Linked DNA regions of Homo sapiens: regions 1, 2 and 3 are each linked to region 4. Evidence: promoter capture Hi-C in human tissues and cell types (Jung and others, 2019). All regions are on one chromosome and are shown on one strand. The core of a region is centred on a gene start or on the middle of the fragment in contact, and the rest is flanking DNA. Distances in the headings are between cores, read along the strand shown. Region 1 overlaps GNG7 (G protein subunit gamma 7). Region 2 holds the start of MKNK2 (MAPK interacting serine/threonine kinase 2). Region 3 overlaps GNG7 (G protein subunit gamma 7). Region 4 holds the start of LSM7 (LSM7 homolog, U6 small nuclear RNA and mRNA degradation associated).

Region 1 (3,440 bases), core at 497-2,996, 320 kb before region 4:
GATCAAGCGATCCTCCCATCTCAGCCTCTCGAGTAGCTGGGGTCACAGGCGGGCACCACTACACCCTCCTAATTTTTAAATTTTTTTTGTCAAGATGGGGTCATTTTGTAGAGATGGGGCGACTCGCTGGGAGGACCCTGGACTCCGCATGAGGCCTCCTTGTGACTGTGGTTTGTCCCAGCAAGAGGACATGGAGCACAGAGCAGAGTTTGGGAAGGGAAAGGCTCGTGGGGTGGGTCGGGGAGGCCAGGCCCGGCTTCTAGGCCCAGCTTCCAGGCCCTCTCCCCATGTGTCACGCGGGACACGCCACATCCCCAGCAGCGAGCTGGGACAACAGCCCAAAGCACTGTCACCAGCGAGGCTCCCAGAGACCCAGCACCCACGTTCCTATGGGGGCTGGTTCTGCTGCCCCTGCTGCCTGACCCATGCCAGGATTCCAGGCTCCAGAGGGAGGCAAGGATTTCATATAAACCACGGTGTTTGCAGGAACAGCTTTGGCCCTGGAGCTTGTCCTGTCAGTGATGGTGGCAGGGTCCCCCCGAGTCCCCCGAGGTGGGGAGTTCCTGGTCGCAGCCTCAGGCATGTGGTGCCAGCCTGGTTCTGCTCAGAGACTGCCCGTACCAGCTGAGCTGGGGCTGAGGGACTTCCCAGGATGCAGGACTTTCAGGCTAACTCTGGAAAAGTCCTGGGCAGACCTGGATACGTTGGGTGCCTTCTGGGCACCGTGGGACTAACTCAGCCCCTTCTTCTTCCTCCCAGGGAGATCGTGAGGCTCCAAAGATGTACAGAGATGTTTTTGATAAACTGTGAAGAGCCGTAGAAACATCAATCCTTGCACTCAGTTCAGTTTTCAAACACGTGGAAAATGTATTAGGAATAACGTCATAAATCTCTAATAATAAATATTTTCAGTGAATTGTCTTCTGCTTTTTTCCTTTTCTATTATTTTTTTTTTTGAAGCAGAGTCTTGCCCTGTTGCCCAGGCTGGAGGACAGTGGCTCGATCTCAGCTCACTGCACCCTCTGCCTCCCGGGTTCAAGGGATTCTCCTGCCTCAGCCTCCTAAGTAGCTGGGACTACAGGCACCCACCACCACGTTGGCTAATTTTTATATTTTTAGTAGAGACGGGATTTTGCCATGTTGGCCAGGCTGGTCTCGAACTTCTGACCTCATGATCCACCTGCCTTGGCCTCCCAAAGTGCTGGGATTACAGGCCTAAGCCACCGCGCCTGGTTGCCAAAATGATTTCTGTCCTTGTCCAATCACAAGCGCGAGGCCGTTCTCCAATGCTGACCCCATCAACACATGCATGGTGCCTCCAGCCAAGCCACGCCAAACTAACTCTATGTGTTTTTTCCAGGGAGTGGAGCTTGGTTTCGGGATCTCGGTGCTGCAGACGGCGAGACCTCCTGCACAGGTCGGTGCTGTAATGCATTTCTTTGTTATGATTTGAGGTTCAGTTGGCTGTTTTGCACCCTGGATGTAAGACGTGGGGTTGCCGTCAAGGCGGGCGTCTTGGCCTTGACCTGGGTCTGTCGGCTGTTTGTATCCACCAAGTATGGGTAATGGGGAGCAGGTGTGGGTAACAGCTGCTAGCTCCTGGCAGAGTTTCCCGCCCACGAGGCAGGGAACGTGGCACTCACTGGTCCTGCTGGTGCCGGAGCCCCTGGATGGGGTCAGGGTGGGAAGCCCACAGCGGTGCTGCATGCCTTTCCGGTGTCTTCGTGCCATGGTAGGGAGTTTTAAGGAGCCTTCACCCGTATCTCCTGTGCACCTGGAGAGTGACCCGTCGCTGGCCCTTTAGCTCTCCTCTGTTGATTTACTCCTCGTTTTTCTCCCTAGAGAATCATGAGTGGCTTTTAAAATGTAGGAAGAGGAAACCATTTAAAAATAAGTAGAAAGGAAGGCAGAAATGTCCAGAAAAGGCAAAGCCATAGGGACAGAAAGGGACTCGTGGTGATTGGAGGCTGGGGACATGAATGTGCACCAGAGACTTGCCAGGGACGTGGAAATGGACCCGATGGTCGGGTCGGGGTGACCGCAACCTGGTGAACTTACTTAAAAATCTTAAAACAAAATTTTTTTTTAAGAGTTAGGGTTTTGGCCAGGCATGGTGGCTCATGCCTGTAATCCCAGCACTTTGGGAGGCCGAGATGGGTGGATCACCTGAGGTCAGGAGTTCCAGACCAGCCTGACCAACATGGTGAAACCCCATCTCTACTAAAAATAGGAAAATCAGCCAGGCGTGGTGGCAGGTGCCTAGAGTCCAAGCTACTCGGGAGGCTGAGGTGCGAGAATCACTTGAGCCTGGGAGATGGTGGTTGCAGTGAGCCAAGATCATGCCACTGCGCTCCAGCCTGGGTGACAGAGCGAAACTCCTTCTAAAAAAAAAAAAAAGAGAGAGAGAGAGAGAAAAGAAAGAAAGAAAGAAAAACAGAAAAGAGTTAGGGTTTGCTTTGTTGCCCAGGCTGGTCTTGAACTCCGTGGCTCAAGTGATCTTCCTGCTTTGACTTCCCAAAGTGCCAGGATTACAGGTGCGTACCATTGCACCCGGCCCTGAAGTATCTTTGAGCAGTACACTTCACTTGAATTTTATGGCATGTAATGTGTACCTTAAAAATGCATATTTTAGCTAAGCCCAGTATAAATCATTTTGGTCTCATCCTTAGTAGTCAATGGTCATGAGAGGTAATTCAGAAACAGATGTACTCAAAAGTCAAGAATATGTTCAAATTTAGCAATAAGGCAAAGACTCCAAATGTCCATCAATGGGTGAATGGATCAGCAGAACATCCTCCATCCACACCATGGAGTGTTACTCAGCCATGAAAAGGAATGAAGCTTTGACACAGGCCACAGTGTGGATGTACCTTGAGGACGTCACGCTCAGTAAGAGATGCCAGACACAAAAGGCCACACAGCATGTGATCCCCTTTCTACAAAAGGTTCAGGACGGGCCGATCCACAGAGGCAGGGAGGGGATGCGTGGGTGCCGAGACTGGGAGGGGCATGGGAAGTGATGGTTGATGGGTTTCTTCTTCTTGGCATAATTAGAATGTTCTGGAATTAGTGGTGATGGTTGCAGGACTCTGAATGTACTAAATGCCATTGAATTGTGCGTTTTCTTTTTATTTTATGATTTTTTTCTTCTTTTTGGTGCCGCAGATAATACTCAGAAAGAATTATGCATTTTAAATGGGTGCACTGTATGTCATATGAATTACATCTCAATAACATGATGCATGTATAGATAGAGCATTATATATATATATATATATATATATATATATATATATATATATATATATATATAAAGTGTAGGCCGGGTGCAGTGGCTCACACCTGTAATCCCAGCACTTTGGGAGGCCAAGGCAGGTGGATCACCTGAGGTCAGGAGTTTGAGACTAGCCTGGCCAACATGGCGAAACCCCGTTTCTACT
Region 2 (3,219 bases), core at 1-2,500, 280 kb after region 4:
TGTTTGTGCGTGTATGTGTTCACACGCACACACACGCACCCACATGCACAATAAGGGGGGCTGGGGGACCTGGTTTTCTGTCCCCCCATTGCCAAGAGTCAGGGCAATGCCAGGTGCTGGGCTGGGTTCTGGCTGGGAATTCCCCACAGGCTTCCCCCCAATGCCCCGGGGGTGGCTGAGGCCAGGCCTCCCAGCCCCTGTGGCCTGAGAGCTGTGGCCTTGCAGGCAGGGGCCCTCCAGCTTCAGGTCAGTGGGGCTCCAGCCCCTCTTGAGCTCAGGGCCTGGTTGGGGGATGGTGGGATGGGCTGTGCGAAGCTTCTGGAAACCCCTGCAGAAGAGGAGACCACAGTCCACCCAGCAGGGGAACCCCCACTCCTTGTGTGCCCCAGGCCCGGGGCCTGGGGAGCACTTTGAACCAGGATGCTGTGGGATGGGGGACTGGCAGCTCAGGACAGGCTGATTCTATCTAAGCCTGGTTTGGGGCCCCAGCCAAAATGGGACTGTGTTTTACTTCCTGTCCTGGCGACCATCCACCCCTTGGGCTCTTTCCCAGTGGGTCTCAGGTCCCAGTTCTCCCTGAAATGCTATTCGAGGACAGAGGAAGGGTCCTTCACAGACCTCGGTCCCCACCCTCTACTCTGGTTCCTGCCAACCACAAAGCAAACTCGGGGAGCTCAGTGCTCCCCAGGCAGGGTGGCCCAGGGGAAGAAGAAAGTAGGTGGCGGTGGCTGGTCCCCCAGCACTAGAAGGGAGTGGCTGGGACTCCAAGCGTGCTGGTGGTGCACGAGGGGGACTGCTGGAGCCAGCACTGGAGAACTGCAAGAGGGAGCCATGGCAGGTTCTAGAGCGAGGGCATGAACCAAGGGAGTCGGGGTATACTAGGCCTGGGTTGACAGGCCAAGGGAGTTGCCCTGTGTGGGGCCAGGCGGTAGGACACGGCCCAGGGCCTCGCAGGTCCCACGGGCCCCGCGAGCCTCAGGCGGCAAAAACAGGCCAGCTCCGGGCGCGCCGCAGGGTCGCTGCCTAGGTTCCGCACCGAGACCCCCGTGCGCCGCACTGCGCAGGCGTGCGCTAGCCGTTTCGGACACGCCCCACCGCCGGAGCGCGCAGCCGCACTGGGTTCCCGGAGAGCGCCCTCTTCTGGCTCCGCCCACGTCGTGCGCAGGGGGTGAGGCCGGGCGGAGCCTGCGTCGGGGGCGGGGCCAGAGCAGGTCCGGGCCTATAAAGGTGGCGGCGGCGGCGACGCGCCCGGCTCCTCTCAGCGGCGGTGGCCCAGGTAGAGGGGTCCGCGCTGGCGGCGGCGGCGGCGCTGTTCCCCGCGCGGTCCGCGGAGCGGGGTCCGGGCTGCGCGACGTGGGGCGGCGGCGGCACTGCGGCCCCGGCCCAAGCCCGACCCCGGTGAGTGCGAACCCCAGGGCGGCCCCGAGGACACCGACCCGGTAGCGGGAAACGGGCCCCGCGGAGCCCTCGCCGCCCCCGCCCGGTCCGCGCTCCTGGCAGGCCGGGCTCCGCTCACCGCCCTCCCTTTGTCTGCTCCCGCCCGCAGGGTCCCCTCCTCGGCCGCCCCCCGCCCGGCCGCCCGCCCTCGGGCCTCCCCCCGGGCCCTCGGTCCCCTCCCCCGCTGGCGGGGCCCGGACAGAAGATGGTGCAGAAGAAACCAGCCGAACTTCAGGGTTTCCACCGTTCGTTCAAGGTGAGGCCCGGGGTCGGTTTGGGGGCGCTCCGGGCTGGACCACCGGAATGGCCGGCGTGGGGGGCGCGGGGCCCGCCCCTAAGATCGGCTCCCGGGGCTCGTGCCTGGCCCCCGCCCTACACCCGGGGCTGCCCGGGCCGGCCGTGCGCTGAAGCGGGGTCGGTGTGCGAGGATGGGGGTTCAGCAGGCCACAGTCCTCTCTCCAGCCATGGCCGCCGGGTCCTTCCTCCAGGACCCCCAAGTGAGGCTGGGAGCAGGAGCCCCCTCCGGGTCAGGGCACCAGGCTGTGTGTCCCCTGCAAGCCCCCGCCGGGTATGTTCTGGGGGGTCAGCAGGCTGCAGTCCTGTCCCAGTCGCTGCATGTGGCTTATGGGGGGTGTCCCCTGCAAGCTCCAGCTGGTTGTGCCCTGGTGGGGACGGGTCAGCGGGCCACAGTCCCATTCCCACCTCCATGTGGCTTCTGGGGACTTTCTTTCAGAATCCCCAGGCCGGGCTGGTCAGGTGCACCCACCCCCAGGGGGCCTGTGCCGTGGGGGAGGGGATGGGATGTCCCCTCAGCCCTGCACTTCGCAGACACCCCAGGCCCAAGTGCTGTTTCCTGTCGGAGCGGGAAGTTTCTGCGCAGCCCGGGTGGTGACTGCTGTTGAGTGCTGGTTTCAGATGAGCAAATCTTGGGGGGGAAGGGGAGGGCAGGTGCTGGGCAGGGGCCCCGCAGGACCTGGCCCAGGGGACGCAGTGATGTCAGCCGGCCCGCCCCACCCCTCAGGCCGGGGTTATGTAATCGCTTCACTGGGCTTCCTTGGGCAGGGACCTGTTGCCCGGTAGGGAAGGCAGGACTGGAGAGAGGAAGAGAGAGTGTGAGTGTATGTGTGTGTGTTTGTGTGTGTGTGTGTCTCTGTCTTGTGTGTACACACAACGCGGTGCTCCAGGGTGGGAGGAGCAAAGAGAGACTGGGAAGAATTCCCAGGTCTGTCCAGCCAGTGCCCCAGGGCAGCACTCCACCCCTGCCACCCCTGCCCAGTTTTCCCCTAGGGCAGCAGGCCTGGCACCATCAGAGTGTCAGGGGCTGGGCGGGAAAGAGGAGGACCTGACAGTGGTCTTCTCCCTCCTAGGGCCAGGCATGAGCTGATACAGAGTCAGTGCATGGGGCCAGCCAGGCAGCTAAAGCACACTTGAACTTTCTAGATGGTTCCAGCCACCTCCTGCCAAGGCCTGCTGACTCGAGTCCCACAGCCAGACCTAGAACAGTGGGACCAGGACCGCCCACACTGCCCAGGATTGTGGGCCGGCCTCTGTGCATGGCCAGGGCAGCCTGGCTGGGAGCTGGGAAGGTGGGCGTCTTGGTGGAGGAGGGCCTGGCAGGCAGTCCTGGCTGTGAGGTGTTCCTCCAGGTGGCCGGGACCGGTTGCTCTAGGAATCTCCCCCCACAGCCCCCACCATGCACGGCTGCTCCCTGGATTGGGGCCACCTCTCCTGAAATACTCTCCTTGCCTCCAGCAGGCAGCAGCCCAGCAGGGAGGCACGTCT
Region 3 (3,563 bases), core at 147-2,646, 360 kb before region 4:
CCTCAAGTGATCCTTTCGCTTCGGCCTCCCAAAGTGCTGGGATTACAGACGTGAGCCACCGTGCCCGGCCTCCATTTTTAAATGGTTGGAAAAAAAAGTCAAAGGAAGCCCTGCTTCTACCCGCCGCCAAAAGAAGCAAAAAACAAAAGTCAAAGAAAAGGCCATGACACATGACAATTATATGGCATTCAGATTTTAGTGTCCAGAAATAATGTTTTATTGGCACACTGCTCTGTGTATTCTGCTACCATGGTGTAGTTAAGTCGTTGCCGTAGAGAGTGGCTCCACCGCAAGGCTGAAAACACTGGGTATCTGGACTCTTACCGAAAAAGCGTGTTGGCCCTCGAGTCCATCTCGCACGCTTTATGCATGGGAAAACTGAGGTCTGGAGGTTTCACGAGTTAGTGGTCATGCTGGGACTTGATCTTGGAACTTTGTACTTTAGCATTTGTCATGTCATTTCAGCCTCTGTGTTGTCAGAGCTCTAACAGTTAACTTCAGAGAATTGCATCGAATATGGTTTTTTTTTTTTTTTTTTTTTTTTTTTGAGTTGGAGTCTCACTCTGTAGCCCAGGCTGGAGTGCAATGGCGCCATCTCAGCTCACTGCAGCCTCCGCCTCCCAGGTTCAAGTGATCCTCCTGCCTTAGCCTCCTGAGTAGCTGGGATTACAGGCGTCCACCACCACACCCGGCTATTTTTTGTATTTTTAGTAGAGACGGGGTTTCACCATGATGGCCAGGCTGGTCTCGAACTTCTGACCTCAGGTGATCCACCCGCCTTGGCCTCCCAAAGTGCTGGGAGGCCCACCGAGCCCGGCCCAAATGTGGTCTTGTTAGGAGCGTTTATTCCTGTAGCCTCCATAATGAGAAGGGCTTAATGATTTGGGAACAATTTTATATAATTATTTTTTTTCCCCTATAACACGGTGCCATGCATAGTATGATTGGCATTTTTTTCCCCCTTTTTTTTTGCATTATTTTTATTTTTGTTTATTTTTTTCTTATTTATTTATTTATTGTATGTATTTATTATGTTGGGGCAAACATAATTGTGGTCTTTGCCATTAAAAGTAATATTTTTTAAATTTACATTTACATTTTTTTTTGAGACAGAGTCTTACTCTGTCGCCCAGGCTAAGTGCAGTGGAGTGATCATGGCTCACTGTAGCCTCCAACTCCTGGGCTCAAGCGATCCTCCCACCTCAGCCTCCTGAGTAGCTGGGACCACAGGCACGCAACCCCGTGCCTGGCTAATTTTTGTTTTATTGTAGAGATGAGGTCTCGCTATTTTGCCTAGGCTGGTCTCGAACTCCTGAACACAAGTGATCCTGCCACCCCGGACTCCCAAAGTGTTAGGAGGACAGACGGGAGCCACTGTGCCCGGCTAACAATGGGTTCATTTCTCTCAACTCCACACTTTATTCAAATGTCATTAATCTTCCCCTAATGTCCTTTCCTGCCCCAGGACCCATCTAGAATCCCACGTGACATTTAGCCGGCTCGTCTCCGGGGGTTCTTCCAGGTTGGGACCATGTCTTAGATGTTCGTTACCTCTCGTGACCTGGACGGTCTTAGGGGGACCGGCTGGGTATTGTGCAGACTTACTTCTGATCTAGGTTTGTCAGATATTTCTCTCGTGATCAGACCGGGGTTACGGGTTTCGGGAAAGAACACGTAGGGGTGAGGTGCCCTGTTGCTCTCTCCCTGCTGGGGATCCTTGAGACCCTGGTGACTTCCTACTGGTGCTGTTAACCTGGTTCTCCCAGCCCAGGTGGCCTTAGCCCACCTACCAGCTACTCTGAGGTCATTCTTGCTGAGGGAACTCCCCACTTCCCCAGAGCACTGACACCGACTCCATCCTTCGTACGGCAAACTTTGCTTTTCATCTTTGCATCATGATTTCTTTTTTCTTTTGTTGAGACGGAGTCTCGCTCTGTCGCCCAGGCTGGAGTGCAGTGGCGCGATCTTGGCTCACTGCAAGCTCCACCTCCTGGGTTTACACCATTCTCCTGCCTCAGCCTCCCGAGTAACTGGGACTACAGGCACCCGCCACCATGCCCGGCTAATTTTTTGTTATTTTTAGTAGGGACGGGGTTTCACCGTGTTAGCCAGGATAGTCTCGATCTCCTGACCTTGTGATCTGCCCAGCTCGGCCTCCCAAAGTGCTGGGATTACAGGCGTGAGCCACCGCGCCCGGCTATTTTATCTGGAGGCAGAGTTTTGTTCTTGTTGCCCAGGTTGGAGTACAGTGGCACGATCTCAGCTCACTCAGGTTCAACTGATTCTCCTGCCTCAGCCTCCCAAATAGTTGGGATTACAGGTGCGTGCCACCTTGCCCGGCTAATTTTTTGTATTTTTAGTAGAGATGGGGTTTCGCCGTGTTGGCCAGGCTGGTCTCGAACTCCTGACCATGTGATCTGCCTGCCTCGGCCTCCCAAAGTGCTGGAATTACAGGCGTGAGCCACCGCGCCCGGCATCATGATTTAAACTTCTTGGCCAGGCTGGTGGCTTACTCCTGTCATGCCAGCACTTTTTTTTGTTTGTTTGTTTTTTGAGATGGAGTTTCACTCTTGTTGCCCAGGCTGGAGTGCAATGGTGCGATCTCGGCTCACCGCAACCTCTGCCTCCCGGGCTCAAGCGATTCTCCTACCTCAACCTCCCAACTAGCTGGGATTACAGGCATGGGCCACCATGCCTGGCTAATTTTGTATTTTTAGTAGAGGCAGGGTTTCTCCATGTTGGCCAGGCTGGTCTCGAACTCCTGACCTCAGGTGATCCACCCGCCTCGGCCTCCCAAAGTGCTGGCATTACAGGTGTGAGCCACCATGCCCAGCCTAACCCCAGCACTTTGGGAGGCCAAGATGAGAGGATTGCTTGAGCCCAGGAGCTTGAGACCAGCCTGGACAACATAGTAAGACACCATCTCTACAAAAAAGAGAAAAAAATTAACTGAGTATAGTGGCGCATGCCTGTAATCCCAGCTACTCGGGAGTCCGAGGCAGGAGGGTCGCTTGAGCCCAGGAAGTTGAGGCTGCAGTGAGCCAAGATCATGCCCCTGCACTCCAGTGTGGGTGACAGAGCCAGACCTTGTCTCAAAAAAAAAAAAAAGAAAAAAAGTGGCCAGGCGCGGTGGCTCACGCCTGTAATCCCAGCACTTTGGGAGGCCGAGGCGGGCGGATCACGAGGTCAGGAGATCGAGACCATCCTGGCTAACACGGTGAAACCCCGTCTCTACTAAAAAATACAAAAAGTTAGCTGGATGTGGTGGCGGGCGCCTGTAGTCCCAGCTACTCAGGAGGCTGAGGCAGGGGAATGGTGTGAACCTGGGAGGCAGAGCTTGCAGTGAGCCGAGATCGTGCCACTGTACTCCACCCTGGGCGAGAGAGCGAGACTCTGTCTCAAAAAAAAAAAAAAAAGAAAGAAAAAAAGTAAGTAAAGTCTCTTTTGACCCCACCCTACAAAGGCTCCGCTCCTTGGGATCGTTTCAGGGTGTTGGAAACTCGTCGTCTTCCCCATCTTGGCGGCAAACACTGAAGAGAGCTCAGGAGAGACATCTCCCTTCT
Region 4 (3,545 bases), core at 511-3,010:
GTCTGAAGTTCGAGACCAGCCTGACCAACATGGTGAAACCTCGTCTCTACTAAAAAAAAAAAAAAAAAAATTTAGCCAGGAGTGGTGGCATGCACCTGTAATCCCAGCTATTCGGGAGGCTGAGGTGGGAGAATTGCTTGAACCGGGAGGCAGAGGTTGCAGTGAGCCTAGATCATGCCACTGCACTCCAGCCTGGGCGACAGAGCGAGACTCCGTCTCAAAAAAAAAAAATAGATCTGCTTCGGAAAAGCCTTCCCAGGCAAACTGAGTCCCTCTCTCCACAGAGTTCTGTGATCTTTCTTCCACCTCTGGCTTTCCCCCTCCTTCCAAATGTCTGGGGAGCTCTAGGTGCCTGGCTGCAGAATGGGGGGAGTCCAAAGGGGGCTGACAGAGCAGCTGGGGGTAGGACTGGGGTTCTCAGAAAGCTTCCGAGGGGGCCCGACAGCCTTGCAGAGACCAGGGGCATCTCAGGGTAAGAGAAAAGACTAGAGAGTGAAGCGACTGCAATGAGCTGCAGGCTTCCCCAGCAGCCAGGTCACAACTGGACGGCGCACTCATCTGGATGCGACACGGTCTGACATACTTTGAAAGGGTCACCCCTGCTGTGTCGAGGATGGACTGGGGATGTGGTGGACAAAGGCAGCCACAGCAGAGGGATAGCGGTGGGGCTGGAGGAGTGGAGACTGAGGAGCCAGGTGGCGGCGACGCCTTAAGAGTGAGAACTCTGAGGGGGTAGTGAAGGTTAAGGGCTGCATTTGTGGGGCTGCTCCAGGTTCCATTGCCTGAGCCACCGAACTCAGGAGAGAGGGAAGATTTGGAATTAAGAAAATAAAAGATGCAGTTATGACAGTGCGATCTCGTAGACTGTCCCCACTAGAACCTGACACTCTTTACATCAAATGACACACAATGAACATAATGAAGGCCTGTTGGCCCTGGGCGCTGGTCACCCTGGACAGAACCTCCAGAATCCACACCATAGTCGGTCCTCCTTCTGCACACGAATTCCATCGTCCAAGGTCACGGAGTAAAAGATGGAGCGGGGATCCGACCCCAGTGCAGGGCTGGACTCCTGGCCGCTCCAGGATGCTGCCAGTTACTGGGGGACGCGCGGGACGCCTCTGGGTTCCCCCACCGCACCCCCTAGGGTGAGGTTAGCTTAGCACCGTGCCCGTTCCGCCTAAGGGGAAACTGAGGCTCGGAGAGGGGTGGGCAGCCGCCTGCTCAAGGCCACAGAGCCGGAGAGAGGCGTCCCCGGCGGCAACTGGAGACCCCGAAACGGAGAAGCAGAACCGGAGGATGGAGGGGGCACAAATTTCAGACCCGGTGGGAAGTGAGTGGCGCTGCAGCGGCGGAGGGCCTCCGAGGCGGGGAAAGGAGAGGAGCCGGGGACAGACCCGCAAGGTCACGGCCGAGCCCCGGCACCGCCGGCCGACAACGCGGGGACGGCGGATCCCCGAGGCTGGACCCCCAAGACGGGCCGAGCGGGGTCGTTCCTGCGCGTAGCCCGGGGACAGAGAGGCCGAAGGGCCGCAGCCCGCGGTGCCGTCGGGACCGGTGCCGCGCTCACCTGGGCCGCGAGGAGCAGAAAGGCCGCCAAAAGCCGCGCCAGCGCAGCCGCCACCGCTGCCGCCATGTCGGCCGGTGCCCGCCGCAACCAACGGCAGATGTTTCCCAGCAACGCCCCGAGACCCCGGGCCACGCATGCGCCGCGCATGCGCGTGGGGGAGGTCAAAGGGCGCGGGGCGGTGCCTGCGAAGAGCCACACGGCGCGACAAGATGGCGGTGAGCGCGCGGCGGAATCTGGAGCCGGGGGGCGTGGAGCTCGGGCCGCGCTCCAGGTCTCATGCGCTCTGCTTTCCCCGCAGGATAAGGAGAAGAAGAAAAAGGAGAGCATCTTGGACTTGTCCAAGTACATCGACAAGACGATCCGGGTAAAGTTCCAGGGAGGCCGCGAAGGTGAGGAGGCTCCCGCTGTCGGTACCCCCTCTTTAAAAATTTCAAATAAACCCAGCAACAGAGATGATGAGGACGCATGCGGAAGCACCTCTTTTATTTATTTTCATTATTTTTTTTGAGACGCAGTCTCGCTCTGTCACCCGGGCTGGAGTGCAGTGGTGCGATCTCAGCTCACTGCAACCTCCGCCTCCCAGGTTCAAGTGATTCTTGTGCCTCAGCCTCCCGAGTAGCTGGAATTAATGTGTACCACCACGCCCGGCTAATATTTGTATTTTTAGTAGAGAGGCCATGTTGGCCAGGATGGTCTCAAACTCCTGGCCTCAAGCGATCTGCCTGCCTCAGCCCCCTAAATTGCTGGGATTTCAGGCATGAGCCACCATGCCCAGCCTAGCATTTTTGACTGGGCAAGTGAGCTGCCTTCTCCTAGCCTCCGTTTCCTCATTTGTCAAATGGGGCTGGTAACTCCACCCACTTCACAGGGGGTGGTGAGAATGAATGGTTACAGGCATGTAATGTAATTGAGGCAGCTCTCAGCAGGAAGTAAGCAGTCAGACAACACGTCACTTATTCAATAGCCTCTTGGATCTTTGGTTTCTTTTTTTTGTAAGACGGGGACCCAAACCTCTTTGTCCCTGGATTGTAGACAACTGGGTGGCATGAGAGTTATTAAAAATCACAGTGCCCCAGCCGGACGGGGCGGCTCACGTGTGTAATCCCAGCAATTTGGGAGTCTGAAGCAGGAGGGTGGCTTCACCCTAGGGTTTGAGGCTGCAGTGAGCTATGACCGCACCACTGCACTCCAGCCTGGGCCACAGAGCAAGGCCCAGTCTCAAAAGAGAAAAAGGAGGCCAGGCACAGTGGCTCATGCCTTTAATCTTGACACTTTGGGAGGCCGAGGCAGGCAGATCAGGAGGTCAGGAGATCAAGACCATCCTGGCCTACGTGGTGAAACCCTGTCTCTACTAAAATACAAAAAGTTAGCTGGGCATGGTGGCGCACGCTTGTAGTCCCAGCTACTCGGGGGGCTGAGGCAGGAGAATTGCTTGAACCCCAGAGGCGAGATTGTGCCACCGCACTCCAGCCTGGCGATAGGGCAAGACTCCGTCTCAAAACAAAAAGAAAAAGGAATATGAATAAAATGTTTTCTCAGTCTACACCATGCTGACTCCGGACATGGAAGGACATGAGTGAGCGGCCGCTCTTGCTGGTCACACTGCTTCCCTTTGTTTTCTGCCCTTCATAGCAAATCACCCATTTAGCAGCTGAAACAGCACCATTTTATTATCTCACAGGATCTGTGAGTCAGGAGCCAGGGTACCACAGCCTCAAGGGCTCTCAGGAGGTTGTAACTGAGGGTTGTTTTTTGGGGTCCATCATCTTGGGGTCTTCTTCTGAGCCCACTGGTTATTGACAGAGCTCAGTGCCTTACCTTTGCAGGGCCAGGGTCCCCGTTCTGGCCAGTGTTGGCTAGGGACACTTGCAGCTCCCGGACGCTGCCAGCTCGGGACTCTGTTCCACCGTGGTGGTCTGCCCCTACAGTGCTGCAGGCTGAGCTGACATTTGTCCATATTCAGTTATTCGGGCCA

What was found. The method cuts DNA at HindIII sites, captures the fragments that hold promoters and counts their contacts. A contact is called where the count stands out against the background at its distance.
Region 1: a fragment that was not itself captured here is called in contact with the fragment with the promoter of LSM7 in region 4 in 1 of the 25 tissues and cell types used here (dorsolateral prefrontal cortex).
Region 2: a contact is called between the fragment with the promoter of MKNK2 here and the fragment with the promoter of LSM7 in region 4, in 1 of the 25 tissues and cell types used here (dorsolateral prefrontal cortex).
Region 3: a fragment that was not itself captured here is called in contact with the fragment with the promoter of LSM7 in region 4 in 2 of the 25 tissues and cell types used here (dorsolateral prefrontal cortex and mesenchymal stem cells).

Annotation. Positions count from the first base shown.
Region 1 is chr19:2,644,201-2,647,640 of GRCh38, reverse strand. GNG7 (G protein subunit gamma 7) reads left to right here. Exons shown (of 5, transcript NM_052847.3): 2 at 1,361-1,417. Among named protein-coding and RNA genes, the nearest start is that of MIR7850, 15 kb to the right of the region's middle. The HindIII fragment of the contact is 9,525 bases long and covers 1-3,440 here.
Region 2 is chr19:2,049,275-2,052,493 of GRCh38, reverse strand. It overlaps MKNK2 (MAPK interacting serine/threonine kinase 2), which reads left to right and starts at 1,250. Exons shown (of 14, transcript NM_199054.3): 1 at 1,250-1,398; 2 at 1,547-1,693. The coding sequence starts at 1,643. RefSeq lists silencers at 1,076-1,615, 2,346-2,535 and enhancers at 2,106-2,165, 2,342-2,998. The HindIII fragment of the contact is 30,775 bases long and covers 1-3,219 here.
Region 3 is chr19:2,686,607-2,690,169 of GRCh38, reverse strand. The region is part of intron 1 of GNG7 (G protein subunit gamma 7); the gene reads left to right. Among named protein-coding and RNA genes, the nearest start is that of GNG7, 14 kb to the left of the region's middle. The HindIII fragment of the contact is 8,454 bases long and covers 1-3,563 here.
Region 4 is chr19:2,326,801-2,330,345 of GRCh38, reverse strand. It overlaps LSM7 (LSM7 homolog, U6 small nuclear RNA and mRNA degradation associated), which reads left to right and starts at 1,760. Exons shown (of 4, transcript NM_016199.3): 1 at 1,760-1,785; 2 at 1,869-1,959. The coding sequence starts at 1,780. It overlaps SPPL2B (signal peptide peptidase like 2B), which reads right to left and starts at 1,662. Exons shown (of 15, transcript NM_152988.3): 1 at 1,571-1,662. The coding sequence starts at 1,636. RefSeq lists silencers at 1,376-1,635, 2,656-2,755 and enhancers at 1,846-1,895, 1,906-1,955, 1,391-2,045, 2,326-2,385. The HindIII fragment of the contact is 22,122 bases long and covers 1-3,545 here.